Regions from separate parts of the Homo sapiens genome. Here all the other regions are linked to region 2. The links are contacts of gene promoters, found by promoter capture Hi-C in human tissues and cell types (Jung and others, 2019). All regions are on one chromosome and are shown on one strand. Each heading gives the region's core, a stretch centred on a gene start or on the middle of the fragment in contact. The rest is flanking DNA. Distances are from core to core; before and after follow the strand shown.

Evidence for each region. The method cuts DNA at HindIII sites, captures the fragments that hold promoters and counts their contacts. A contact is called where the count stands out against the background at its distance.
Region 1: a fragment that was not itself captured here is called in contact with the fragment with the promoter of DBX1 in region 2 in 2 of the 25 tissues and cell types used here (mesendoderm cells and thymus).
Region 3: a fragment that was not itself captured here is called in contact with the fragment with the promoter of DBX1 in region 2 in 2 of the 25 tissues and cell types used here (neural progenitor cells and thymus).

What each region holds. Positions count from the first base shown.
Region 1 is chr11:20,258,621-20,262,981 of GRCh38, reverse strand. No RefSeq gene overlaps it. Among named protein-coding and RNA genes, the nearest start is that of DBX1, 100 kb to the right of the region's middle. The HindIII fragment of the contact is 4,702 bases long and covers 1-4,257 here.
Region 2 is chr11:20,157,485-20,161,752 of GRCh38, reverse strand. DBX1 (developing brain homeobox 1) reads left to right here and starts at 1,278. Exons shown (of 4, transcript NM_001029865.4): 1 at 1,278-1,795; 2 at 2,461-2,562. The coding sequence starts at 1,429. RefSeq lists enhancers at 1-396, 397-898. The HindIII fragment of the contact is 9,910 bases long and covers 1-3,903 here.
Region 3 is chr11:20,279,872-20,284,820 of GRCh38, reverse strand. No RefSeq gene overlaps it. Among named protein-coding and RNA genes, the nearest start is that of HTATIP2, 81 kb to the left of the region's middle. The HindIII fragment of the contact is 4,025 bases long and covers 380-4,404 here.

The sequences.
Region 1 (4,361 bases), core at 657-3,156, 100 kb before region 2:
CTCAAACATAATGTTTCATGTAATTATTGGTTGTGTTTAAAAGCTGACCCCTTTAACATCATTAGTCTTGCTGTGGTACAACTTTTCCACATCTGATAAAGTTTGACATGCAGTGTTCTCATGTATGCCTCTTCCTAAATAGTCATTAGTTGGAGGGTTGTTTTTTTTTTTAACCCAATGATTATTTAGGAGAGTATTTTAAACTGCATATAAAACTTCTTTTAAAATTGCGTAGATCACTTAAAGCTATTTGGAATGTGTTGAGCTTTTCTTGGCAGCCTAGTGTATTTTCAATATTTTATAAGACCCATGGTTGCTTAAAAAATTTTGTTATATACATTTTTCTAATTTTATTCTGCAAATTGTTTTTTGTCCGGTTGATATAAGAAAATACTATCAATATCTTTCACAATAATTTTGTCTCTCAATTTTTCTTCATAGTTTACCTAATTTCAGCTTTATGCATATTCACCCTTGGTTAGTCGACGCATAGAAATCTTTGACTATTAATTCTTCCTTGTGAATTTTGTATTAATATAAATTATTCGATTTAATACTTTTTAAATTTTGAACACATGCTAAACAAGGGAATAAGCATGCTTTTGCTGATTATCTTTTCTTCCTAGATTACTTTTGCAATTGTTTTCAGTATGAAAACAACTATTTTTATGGAAATCATTCAGTGTTAATTCTAAATTTACTTTTGTCCCAGAATATTTCCTCTCATGTTCCAGTCAGGGTATCCAAAATGCTTCTATTATTTAGTCACTGGGGAAAAGGAGAGTGAAGTGATTATGTTTTGGGTAACTGCCTAAAAAAACGAAACCTAAAAATACTGAATGCTTATTGAACATTTCTACATGCTAACATCTGTTTTTAAAGCCCTATTTATATTAAATTATTTAATACTCACAGAAAGATGCTGACCTGACACAGTTAACCACTTCATTCCCCGACTCTGCACACCCGACCACCATCTCCCTGTCTTTGGCAGTGTCTCCTCCTCTGTCCCCTGCCGGGAAGTCATGTTCATATAACATGACATGGCCGCACTCACCACAGTGATGAGAATAGGGCTAGTGGGAATAGGGCTGGGCCTCTGACCCAAGGTAACAATCTGTAGATTAGGCTGAATCATTTATATATTTTGTCCAAGAGATGCTGAGACATTAGAGGGGTAGGGGCACTTGTATAGAAAGGCTATGTGGAATCTATACTGGGCAGCCATTTCCAACCACAGGAATGTTGATGACGGAGCCTGTGAGAGGCTGAACCAAATGCAAAGAGAGATGCAGTGTCAGAGGCCACGTGGATCCTGAGAGAGAGGACGATAGAGTTCCTACAAGGCTGAGCTATACTTCCTATATATTGTTACTGTGAGATATCCTTGCCTTCTTTTAATAATCCCTTTTAACTTTTACTGGTTTTGGTGTCCTCTTTCTTAGATGAGCCCTGATTAAAATAGAGCCAAGATTAAAATGCTATTTAACTAGAGAAGATATTGTGGCAAAGTATATTTTCCAAAGGCAGACACCATAATATCCCCCAAACCACATGCTCTTCTAGACCCTTGCTATTTCTCAGATAAGAGGTGGAATCTATGTCCTCTCCCATTGAGACTGGGTAGCTCTTAATAATTGTATTGCCCAATGCAGTATGGTGGAAATGGCACCATGTGACTTCCAAGGCTAGCTCATACAAGTGGATATTATGGTGTTTATCTTTGGAAAATACACATTGCCACACTATCTTACATAGTTAAGTAGGGACACTTGCTCTTGGAACCCAACACGTTGTTGTAAGGAAGCCCAAGTAGTTAGTGGAGAGGTCCATGTAGAGAGAAATGAGGGCTCCAGGCCCAAACCCAGCTGACGACCAGCATCAACTTGCCAGCCAAGTAAATGAGCAATTTTGAAAGTGTATCTTCTAGTCCTGAGTTAAGCTGTCCCTGTTAATACCACTGAAATCATAGATGGAGTTGCTCCTAACAAGTTCTGCTCTAATTGCAGATTCATGAGCAAAATAAATGATCACTGTTCTTTTAAGCCACTAAATTTGGTGGTGGAGGGGAGAGCTTTTTCCTGCTTTAGGAATATATAAGTGATATAAACACCACATTAAATTATAGTCATCAATTAATATATAGTTATTTCTTAGTGGGGATCTATAAAAATTGGACTTGGGGAAAGATGTCTTAAGATGGAGAGGCAGGGAACAAACAATGAGGAAAAGAGCCACCTTGCAGTCACCCATAGTCAGTGCATTTTGCCTTGAGGGCAGGTTACTAAAGAAATGGATGAAAAAAGGAAGAGAGGATGGAGGGGAGGACGACTTTGGTTTCCTTCCCTGTGCTCTGCAGAAATCTCATGAGTGGCTTGGAGGCAGTGGTGGAGGTGGTGATGGGAATGCATGAGATGCTGGCATGAACTGTAGAGTCCTCAGGAGTATATCCTGCTCTTTATTCCTTATGGTTTCCGCAGAGGCTGGCACAAAGCCAGCCACATAGCAGATGCTTAATACATATTTTACATTAAAGAAATAAATGAAAATTCCATGGTGTCCTGGTCAGAATCTTTGTTTATAAAGAATAAAAACTCCATCAAATTAACTTGGGTAAAAGTGAGTTTAGTGTGCAGATAAAGGTGAATTGCCTATAACCCAACTGTACAATGTAGAGCAGGGTCTTGTGAGAACAGAAAGGATGTTTATATGTTTCCCTCTGCCTGGAGCCATGTGCATCTCTTACCTTGGCTCCCTTCTCCATGTCTAATCAACTTTTCCTCTTTACAGGTTAGCTTCCTCTGCCAAGCTTTTAGTTTATTTTTTCCTAAAATTCTTCTTGCTTTATAGAACCTTGTTGACCACCCAACATGCCTACTGCTCTATGACCAAAACTAACCGGCTCTCTCAGCCTAAATTTCAAACTCCTGTAAGGGAGACTTTAATTGGCTAAGTTGGGGCTTCGTGTCCCCATGAGTCTAAGCAGCTGTGACCAGGCTGGAGCCATGCAGTTCTTTGGGCTTTCTCTTCTAGACTGTGAGTGAGACAGTTTTCTAAGATGGGCATTGTTGAGGAGGAAATAGTGAGGCTATGACAGGGTTAAGCACAAGAGTTAAGGGGCTTGCATTCCACCCTCCAGAGCTTTGCTACAATCTATGGTCCTATGAACATGCCTTTAGGATATAAAATACCACCATTGCCATAAAAATACCATCAACAAGATGCTTCCACTGCCCATCTGTTTTTCAAGCCACAATGTAAGCCTCAAGGAAGGAGATCAGGCTACAGGGTGAACCACACAGTCATGACTCATGTTGTCCAAGATTCCCTATGCTTCTAAAAATTAGCACCTCTGGACCCATGGGCACTCTCAGGCTAAACAATGCGATCCACAGGCAGCCAATGATTAAGATTCAGCGTTCCTCCCTGATGGAGAAGTGCAAATACCAATCCCCTTTCTCAAAGTTCCAGCATTCCAGTCTTCTAGTAACCTATATAGAAGCATACAGGAACCAGGATGTCAATTTGAATCAATCAGCTGTGTTGAAGCAGGAAAGCAAACAGAGGGTTTCTGTAGAGCCCACCTTAGGCTGATGGTCTGGATGGATCTTCAGACTTTCAAAGGTCTCCTAGTGATCTGACAGGCGCAAAGCTAAATCTCCAGCTCCACCTTCTTCTTGTAGAGTAGCTCCCAATGGTTAATTACTTTTTATCATTTGGGCCACACACAAGAGTTGAACACACATCGAGTTACAAACACATTTTCTAGGCCACACATCAAGTTGGCCCAGAAAAAAGAAAAAAAAAATTTTAAATATGATATATTTTTATACTTGCTTGGTCATGTCTTTCGGATAACAGCTGATCAAAATTCTAGTTGGACAGTTTAAAAAAATAGCATTTTCTTCATTCTGATATTCTGCACAGTGTTCTAATTAGTGTGATAATAGGACCCTCTAAAGACATAATGTGGGGGAAACTTTTATATTTATTAGTGACAGCCCCTAATGTCAAGTTTATATCATGTTAGTTTCTAAAATGTTTACAATCCATTGCTCTATTTCTAAAAACTTAGTCTGAGATGGGGTTAAGTGCTGAAATAAACCAGATAAACTTAAGTTCTTGCCCCAAGATACTTTTCTAAAAATTCCTTTTTAAATCTTTAAAGGTCCAGGCTGTTGGTTAACTGAGAGAAAGCCAGGGTTGATTGACAGTATCTGTCAGAGGCAATGAACTGCACTTCAATGATGCCTTTATGCCGGCGTGTCAAGTTGTTCAACTGTGACCCTTCCATCTGTTCCAGCTAATCTGAAAGTCATTTAGACCCGCTTCCCCATTCATTTGAAACACAGCACATTCTC
Region 2 (4,268 bases), core at 29-2,528:
AGTACCACCTCAGCCCCAACCAGAGGAAAGCGAAGGGACTGTCTCCAGGAAGATTCTCCTTTGAAGCCCCACATTCAGGGGAGGCTTTCCCGGAGTGGACCAACATTCTTGGGAACCGCATCCCTTCCCTCTGGTTTTCACGCGTTTGTGCGTTGTAGTTAATTAAGAAGCTGCCAAACCTTGGGCCAAGTTAAGGGCCCCGCAAGTGGTAGGGTTCTCTCCAGACGACGTCTGGACCTTCGCTGCTATGGCTTAAAATGTCAGGGCTGTGAGTTTCAACTTAAACTGCCGAGAGCTCCCTGTGTTTGGAGAACGGCCAGCATAGCACTCACAGCCTTTGGATACCCTTGCCCGAGGCAGTTTCCGGTCAGCCTAAGCTCTTTGCAAGCGGAATCCTGCCGCTCGGCAGCCCAGCGCCGCTCTCCTCCGCTCCTCCCGCAAGGTGAGGTGCGGACAGCCCCTTGCAGAAACTCCTAGAGAAAATCGTTTTCCAAGTTGCTGGGAATTTGAAGGAGACTCGTTTTACTTTTCAGGTATCCACCAACGCTCAAACTCAACCAGTCTCCCGAAATGAAATAACTCCAGACCTCTCCCCACTCTTACGGACACACATCCAGTGGCCCCAAAGCATCCGTTTCCAAGTTTCCCTGAGTCGTCAGAATGGGACTTCTAACACTGATTTCACTCACCCCTACATTTGCTTTATGCTTCAGCTGGAGTAACGGATAGGGCTAGAGACCGGAAAGGGAGTATATTTTCATGTCCACTGACTTGAAACTTTTCATTGCCCTACCCCCACAAGAGGGAGGGCAACTTTGCTGATAGCCTGAAGATGTATTTCTATGAATATTTATTGATTTATTTTCCAGGCTTAGCAGGGGAGCTGCAAATAAATTTAGTGGGTTCTTTAAATAATTCCTTTTCTATGAGGCAAGATGTCATCTGAAACTTCTAAATAGGCATTTAATTAGCCCGGGTGTTGCTTCGGAACAAAAACCTTTGGCGAGAGCTTTGGGGGCGCACTGTATTGCAAAGAGGCGGTCGATATGCAAAATTGATGCGCGCGGGCCTTTGTTGCCGGCCCATTGTGCGGGCCATGCTTATGAAGACTAATCCAATCATAAATTGCACCCCTGCGCCAATCAGAGAGTCCAGAGCCTCCGGCGAATGAAGCTCGAGTGGAGAACTTTGTTGAACTTCATTGTCAGAGCTGTCACTTTTCAAAGTGCTTTAGCGGGCGGGCCACTATAAAACCATCACCTCGACGAGAGGACCACGGAGGACTCGCAGACGCCCAAGTGGGATTGTTACTTGGAGACGTTTGCTAAGCCCAAGAGAGAGGACACTGTGGGGGCGGGAGGGGCGGGAAGCGAGGCGTTTACCCTCCGGCCACTGAAAGAAGGGTTATTTCGCCCGCCCGCGCCTACCATGATGTTCCCCGGCCTCCTCGCGCCCCCCGCCGGGTACCCTAGCCTCCTGCGGCCCACGCCCACCTTGACGCTGCCCCAGTCCTTGCAGTCGGCATTTTCCGGCCACTCCAGCTTCCTGGTGGAGGATCTGATCCGCATCAGCCGACCCCCCGCCTACCTGCCCCGCAGCGTGCCCACCGCCAGCATGTCGCCGCCCAGGCAGGGGGCCCCCACGGCCCTCACCGACACGGGGGCCTCGGACCTGGGCTCCCCGGGTCCCGGCAGCCGACGGGGCGGCTCTCCGCCGACTGCCTTCTCCCCTGCCAGCGAGACGACGTTTCTGAAGTTTGGAGTGAACGCCATCCTCTCCTCGGGGCCCAGAACAGGTAAGCGAGGTCAGAACCCTAAGGGCCCATTCAGGTACTAGGCATGCGCGGAGTCATCCTGGCCTCAGTTTCCTCTAGCGAGCGGGCCCCCACACACACATCGGTGCACACACAATACGCACGAACTCTGAGACCCTACGTCAGGCAATGTGAGAATAGTCCAGTCAATTCCGGGGAAGAAAAGCCTCCAGGCTCGCCCCATCCTCGGAGTGAACTTGAGCACACGCAGTCGGAGACTGTGCGCAGTCATCTGGTGCAGTAACGCTGAGCGCACGCTCCTGGACGTCTGCGTTTCTGCCTTCGAGCTTCTAGGAGACAGTTTTTTTTTTTAAACTCAATATGATATATTTATTGGATTAGCAAATATTATAAATCTGCAATTTCTTTCCTCCCCACTCAGTCCTATCTCGTTAGTGCCTAGGATGGAGATTGGGGTAGAGTGGGACGGCGCAGAGAATTACGTTGGGGAGAAAGAAAAGAGTTTTACAGATAAGACAATGTTGGGAAGATTTATTTTACCCTGTCAACGTATAAGAAAGATGTCTTTGAAACCAGATGAAGGGCTAATTATATCGTGTGTTCAGTGTGCTATACAATAGGCAAGTACGTAATCAGATTCTTTCTGTCTCCCTCTCTCCTTCTGTCCCCCCTCCATCGCCCACCAGAAACATCCCCAGCCTTGCTCCAGAGCGTCCCTCCCAAGACCTTCGCCTTTCCCTACTTCGAAGGGTCTTTTCAGCCTTTCATCAGATCTTCTTATTTCCCAGGTAGGTCTCGTCCCCCTTCTTTGCGCGAGGCAGGGCGGCGCCCCAGCCCCGGCCCATCGCTCCCTGCTCCGAAGCCGTATTTCTCCGTCCACCCCTCGGGGTTATGCTCTGGTTCAGAGGTTGCGAGGCGTATAACATTCATGAATCCGTCGCGCCAATTTGATGCCCTATTGAGCACAAGCAGTGACTGCTTGACACTTTGCACCAATTCCCTGCTCTACAAATTAGCAGGAATTGTCATGGTCCCAATTTGAGGCGGTTCCCTTCCCGGCGAGGAGCTGTTGGCATCCCTTCACGCCGCCGTTTTCCCACAGAGTCAGTGCACTTGGCCACGATTCCCCACAAAGGTTTCAGCACCATGACCAATTGGTCAGCTCCTCCGGGCAGCCACACACAGACCGGCCCTAGTCCCTCCACGCCGCCGAGAGACACCTACCAGCCGGGGCTAATTTCTCTTTAAGACTCATTCAGGGCTTCGGGCTTTTCACAAGACCACATGGGGTGCCCTCTTGTGTGGGATGCCTAGGGTCGCCCAGGGGGAGGGGGATTAGATCCTCCCCCAATCCCAACCTATTTCCAGCCTGATTTCCAAACCCCTTCTCATACTCCTTTCCCACCCTGTATTATAAAATACCGTTGATCTTGCAAAATAAGAAGCAGTTAGAAGAAAGCCCATAATTGTGTCCCAGCCTAAAACAGCAACACCTTAGGCAGCTTCCACCAGGTTTTCTTCCTGTAACCTCACTGATGATTCAAACTATGGCTCAAAAACTCTGCCACTGGTCAAAACTAAAAAGGAGGCAGGAGAGTCCCTATACAGAGAAGAAAAACTGGGTATGGCCTGCGGGGGATGGGTAAAATCACGACAGCACTCCCAAATATCAGCAAAAGAAACAAGCAATTGATTTTTTAAAGGGGAGAGATAATTCGCCCTCCCCCCACCCCCCAGCACCACCACCACCACCACCACCACCACCACCACCACCATTCACACTGCTGCTAATAATGGAATTTGCTCCCTTTCTCCCTCATCTCAATGCTCTAACAAAAACAACCCGAGCTTTATAAATAGCTTTTCATGTCCATTTAATGAAAACGATTCGGGGAAGAGAAGCTTCTGCCATCAGTATTCTCCCAATGGTCTTGGCCTGCAGTTGTGTTTAGTTTGAAAGTGTAAATCTCTTTTGTCCCAGTAATATATGGCTTTCGCTGCTTGTCCTCAGTCTTTTTCTGTTAGTTCATTACTACACAATTACCATTCACGCTTCATTAGAGTCTCTGTTTCTTTTTGTTTTGTTTTTTTCTTTCGCTTAAAGCAAAACTCTCCCCCCTTTTATCATACCAATACCCATTGGGAAGCAGTCAATGTGCTAATTAGCTGCCACTTTTCATGTATTCGGGCCGAATTCTTTACGTTTCGTGGGGGAGGGGAGGAAGGATTAATATAAAAAAGATGAATACTTATTGGATTTTTCAAAAAATCTAAATCGGATTTTTCCCTCTTTATCAAAATAGTAAAGCACCTCATTTTCATCTAAAGAATGCAAAAGCCACTGAAATGATAAAAGCTTAGGGGAGAAACACAGTGGCCTCGGCTGGATATTTTATTTTTATTTTAGTAATTTATTTTTTCTATTGCTGTTTTAGTTGATGTACGCAGGTTTGTTTCCCTAAGTCCACTGAATGGAAAAACGAAACAGGCTATT
Region 3 (4,949 bases), core at 1,143-3,642, 120 kb before region 2:
ACTGGTTTTGAACTCCTGACCTCAGGTGATCTGCCCACCTTGGTCTCCTAAAGTGCTGGGATTACAGGAGTGAGCCACCACACCCAGCCTGTATCTGACTTCTGTTTTCTGTATGTCACTTTCCTTTTTCTGTCCACAAATGCTTTCCAACCACATGGCAGTGCAAAAGTCGCAGGGAAACAGGCTATCCAATTCAAGAATCCTTCTTTGCTCAATGAAACTGTTAAATTCAATTTAAGTTTTTTGTTTTGTTTTATGTTTTTTGTTTTTTAACAGATGGTGTCAGAAGTGCTGTTAGAAGTAGAACTTTCAGTGACCCCCAAAAGCATCAAGTGGCCAAATGAGGTACATGCCGGGCCCATTGTGTCACTGCTGTCTTGGATTCTGAAGCTCCATGACTTTGTGTTTTGGGCTATCCAAGTTTGTTTGAGCAAATTTTTTATCCAAACTTGGTTCAGAAGTCACAACTGAAACTGGACTGGGTCCAGGATTTGATCGAATCTGATAATTAACTGGTCTAGATCCAGATAGAGGGTTTAGATGTCTGACTGGGTTATAGACAGAAACTGGCAGCAAATGTCAGTACTGCAGGAGGTGTGGACTTCAGCTTTCAAAAATTTGCAGACATGTTTGTGTTCTATCCCCTTTGTTTCCTTTTCTTGCTTGCTTTAGGTAGGGAAAAAAATCACTAAGTTGATCAAAAGGGGATCCAAGAGCCAAAGGCAAGATTCAATGTGAAAATGGGATTTTTAGTTTCTGAAAAACTGAGTACTCCATCTTTTGGCTACATCTACCTATACACATATAAGTATTAGGCCCTGAAAGTAGCAAATGCTTATAAAATGGCAAAATCTTACTAAAGCTAATTTAAAATTATAGTGGAATTTTCCAAATGAACAACACTGTACTTTAAAAAATCCATTCAAAAATCATTGTTGGTGTGTCTGTATATCTACACATCTATGTATGTTATATGTATGTGATAATCCTTGGTAAATGAAGCTAGTTTTCGAATTGTTAGCAAACTAAAATATAAAAGGCTTCAAAATTGTCAGTTAAACATAATTGAGACATTTTTACCTGAGTCTACTGGTCAGACAGGTTTATTCTGTCTTAGCTACATGTTTTAAGGTCATAAAACTGATACTTCTGTAATATTTGTCACACTTGTTTGACTTGTCTGTGAGCTAAAGCTGTAAGAGTTGGCTGCTAGACTCTCCTAAAGCCTTGCACACATCTTGCTGTGAGCCTGTCTTAGGTTTGAGCCTCTAGATTTTTGAGGTCTGGACAGGTGACCATGCTGAGGCCTAGGGACATAGTCTCAACAGTTCAATCACCAGCTGCAAGGCAGAGCCACGCCCCACATGGCCCTATCCTCCCTGGTCCAACTTTGCCTCCTGGCCATTTTGGGATTGGTTGGATCCTCCAAGCAACTCTTCACCACTGTGTTCTCTGTCCTGAACTCTATATCTGGGACATAGAAGGGTCCTGCCTTTCATAGCTCTTCTGGGTGCCATGTGGTTACTTGGGACCCAGGAAAACTGGGAAAGACATTAGGGAGTTTATCTATGTCACAGTTTCAAAACTCTTCAGTAATTTAAAATCTTACAGTCATGTTAATAATTTAATAAATTAAGTAAAAATAATATAGTGTTTGAGTCATTTCTAAGTTAAAATACTGAAACATTAATTATTATTATTATATTACTTTTTGAGACAGAGTTTCACTCTGTTGCCCAAGCTGGAGTGTAGTGGCTCAATCCTGGCTCTCTACAACCTTTGTCTCCCAGGTTCAAGTGATTCTCCTGCCTCAGCTTTCAGAGTAGCTGAGATTACAGGCATGCACCACCACGCCTGGCTAACTTTTTTTGTATTTAGTAGAGACGGGGTTTCACCATGTTGATCAGGCTGGTCTCAAACTCCTCACCTCAAATGATCCACCCGCCTCTGCCTCCCAAAGTGTGGGATTACAGGCGTGAGCCACTGTGCCCAGCTGAAACATTAATTATTAAACATACGTTTAAGTTTATATACTTTGGCATTTTATTTTTATGTGGTATACAAAAGCTAAATATATTTAGATCTGTTAATAAAAAAATTGAGAAAGTATATCTTTTTAAAAATATGTAATATGGTTTTTATCTATAAATAATAATATAAAACAATTAAAACTTAAATCCTAGGTTTTCACTAGAAATTTGGGTTACTAGAGTTAAAATTGTAGTTAATATATGTAATTCAAACTACTAGATACTTTAAAATTCTGTACACAAAGTATATAAAAAGCAAAATATGTTTTTGGTGAGGAAAGTTGTAAAGGAATAAAAATGTGTGTTTGTTAAAAAAATAATTTTGTCTAGTTTAAAAGTTATTTAAAGGTAATTTTTAATTTCAAAAATAAAAAATATATAAATAAAACTAAAATATAAAAAGCTTAAAAAAGAAAAAAGAAAAATCTTGTAAGAAATTATAAAAGGTTTATGAAGATCTTATGTGGTTAAAAGCTGACTGAGATTGGATGATATATTTATAAATTTATTAAAATTAGCTTAATATTAATAATACATTAATACAAAAGTAAAATTTGGTTTTTACTTTTAAAAAACTTTATGTAGTATTAAGAAGAGACAGTAAAATACTTTCATTCAAATTTGCATAAACTACAAAAAAAGGTGGGGAGAGGGAGACAGATTCTATCTCATACCGTTTTTATTAGGTCTTTTGATTTTTTTGGAAAATAGTCTCCTCTTTATCAAAGAATAAAGGTTTTTGCTTTTTAAAAAAAAATAGTTGATTATCTGTTTGGCTAAGTGAATGACTTTTATTTTACAGTGACTTGTGATTCTTTTTTTTTTTTTTTTTTTTTTTTTGAGGCAGGGTTTCACTCCCATCACCCAGGCTCGAGTACAGTGGTGCAATCTCAGCTCACTACAATCTCCACATCCTGGGCTCAAGTAATTCTCCTGCCTCAGCCTCCTGAGTAGCTGGGACTATAGGTGTGCACCACCATGTCCAGCTAACTTTTGTATTTTTAGTAGAGACAAGGTTTCACAATGTTGGTCAGGCTGGTCTCCAACTCCTGACCTCAAGTGATCCACCTGCTTCGGCCTCCCAAAGTGCTGGGATTACAGGCATGAGCCACCACACCTGGCCTCTGTTTTGATTAAGTGTTTTAAACTTTTGATATATTTGACAGGCTTCCAAAAATCAAATTTCAAAATCAGAATTAAGGCTTTTCACCTCAAACTAACTTTGGGATGTTATGGAGGGCCCCTGCAGCATCTAAAAGAGATAATAAATAGGCTTATTAGATATGTTAAATTATATGGGAAACCTTGTCAAATAACAAATAATGGTTAACCTTCTTCAAGTTACATTTTTATGAATATGTTATTAATATATCTTTCAAAATTGCATGAGATTCCTAAAATTCTAGTAGGTCTTTATATGTTACCCATCATAACTATGGTTATTATGTTAAATTATTATAGGCCACAGAAATAACCAAATTTTCTTGTCAACTGTGTCTTTAACCATGACCATTCTAAGTCCTTTCCACAGTTAATTGCTGAATTCTGATGCATTTCCTGGAAGTTCTTTGCAAGCAAGTAAAATCCTAGAGTGTTGTGTCTTCAAGGAAGTTCATGGAAAGTATGGAAAGGACCCTGAGAAGCACTGCTGAATAGAAATTTTTGATAACTTTAGGATAATATCGTTTGGACTGGGTAAGAATTCCTGGAATTCTAATAAAGAGACTGGCTGGTTTATAAAACTGCTAACCCAAGCAGAACAAGAATTAGTTATATACCAAGGAAATACTTTGCCAGACTTTCATGCTAAATCAGCCAGTACTGAAATTGTTAAGATAGACAATTTGAGTGAATTCCATATCCAAGTTAAATTACCTATGATAACCCATTTAATAAACAGTTAAGCACCTGAATTGGAGAAACAAAATTGATATTTAAGAGGATATTTAAATATCAATTTAAGAGGATTTATATCCTTTTAAATATCAATATAGAAGCTTTCCCATGGAAGAAGGCTGATGCTATAACAATAGCTAAAAGATTATTAGAAAGTGTGATTCCCTCATAGGACACTCCTGGAAAAATCTCTAACAATAAAAGTACTTGTTTCACTGGACGAATTACAGAACAGTTAAATATGATATTATAGATACAATGGCATTAGGTAAAGCTAATTGAATCGACAGGATTGCCTTGGTCAAAGGTATTGCAGACTGATGACAATCAGATCTACTTCCAGTGCAAACTAAAAGTTAATCTTCTATAAATAGTCACTGGTAGGCTTATGCCCCTAATAATAGAACCTCATGTATCTCCTGCTCCTAAACTCCCATACGACTAAATGCTGCAAGCTTTAATGCATTATGCCAAAGTGTATTGTCACAAGGTAAAGAAAGCTTTTCCATGATCCACCAACTGAGGACCATCATGATCTAGAACGCAGAGATTGGGTCTTCTGGAAACGACCTCAGAGAAAGATCAACCTTGCCACTCACTCTGCAGCAGAACTGCAGCCAACTGTTTAAACCATGTTTAAATAAGGCAAAGATTGAGCTGCAACCAATCTGGCTATTTCTATACCTCACTTCTGTTTTCTTTATGTCACTTTCCTTTTCCCATACATAAATCTTCTCCAACCACACAGCCACACCAGAGTTGCTCTGAACCTATTCTGGTTTGGGGGGGCTGCTCATTCAAGAATTCTTTGCTCAATTAAACTCTGTTAAATTTAATTTGTTTAAAGTTTTTCTTTTCACACTAGTTTTGCAGATGTTAATTGGCTTCTATCTGCAATTCTAGAATTGGGCAATATTTTACATCAAAAATGGTTCAGAAGCCAGGTATGGTGGTGTGGACCTGTAGTCCCAGCTACTCAGGAGACTGAGGTGGGAGGATCACTTGAGCCCAGGAGTTCAAGGG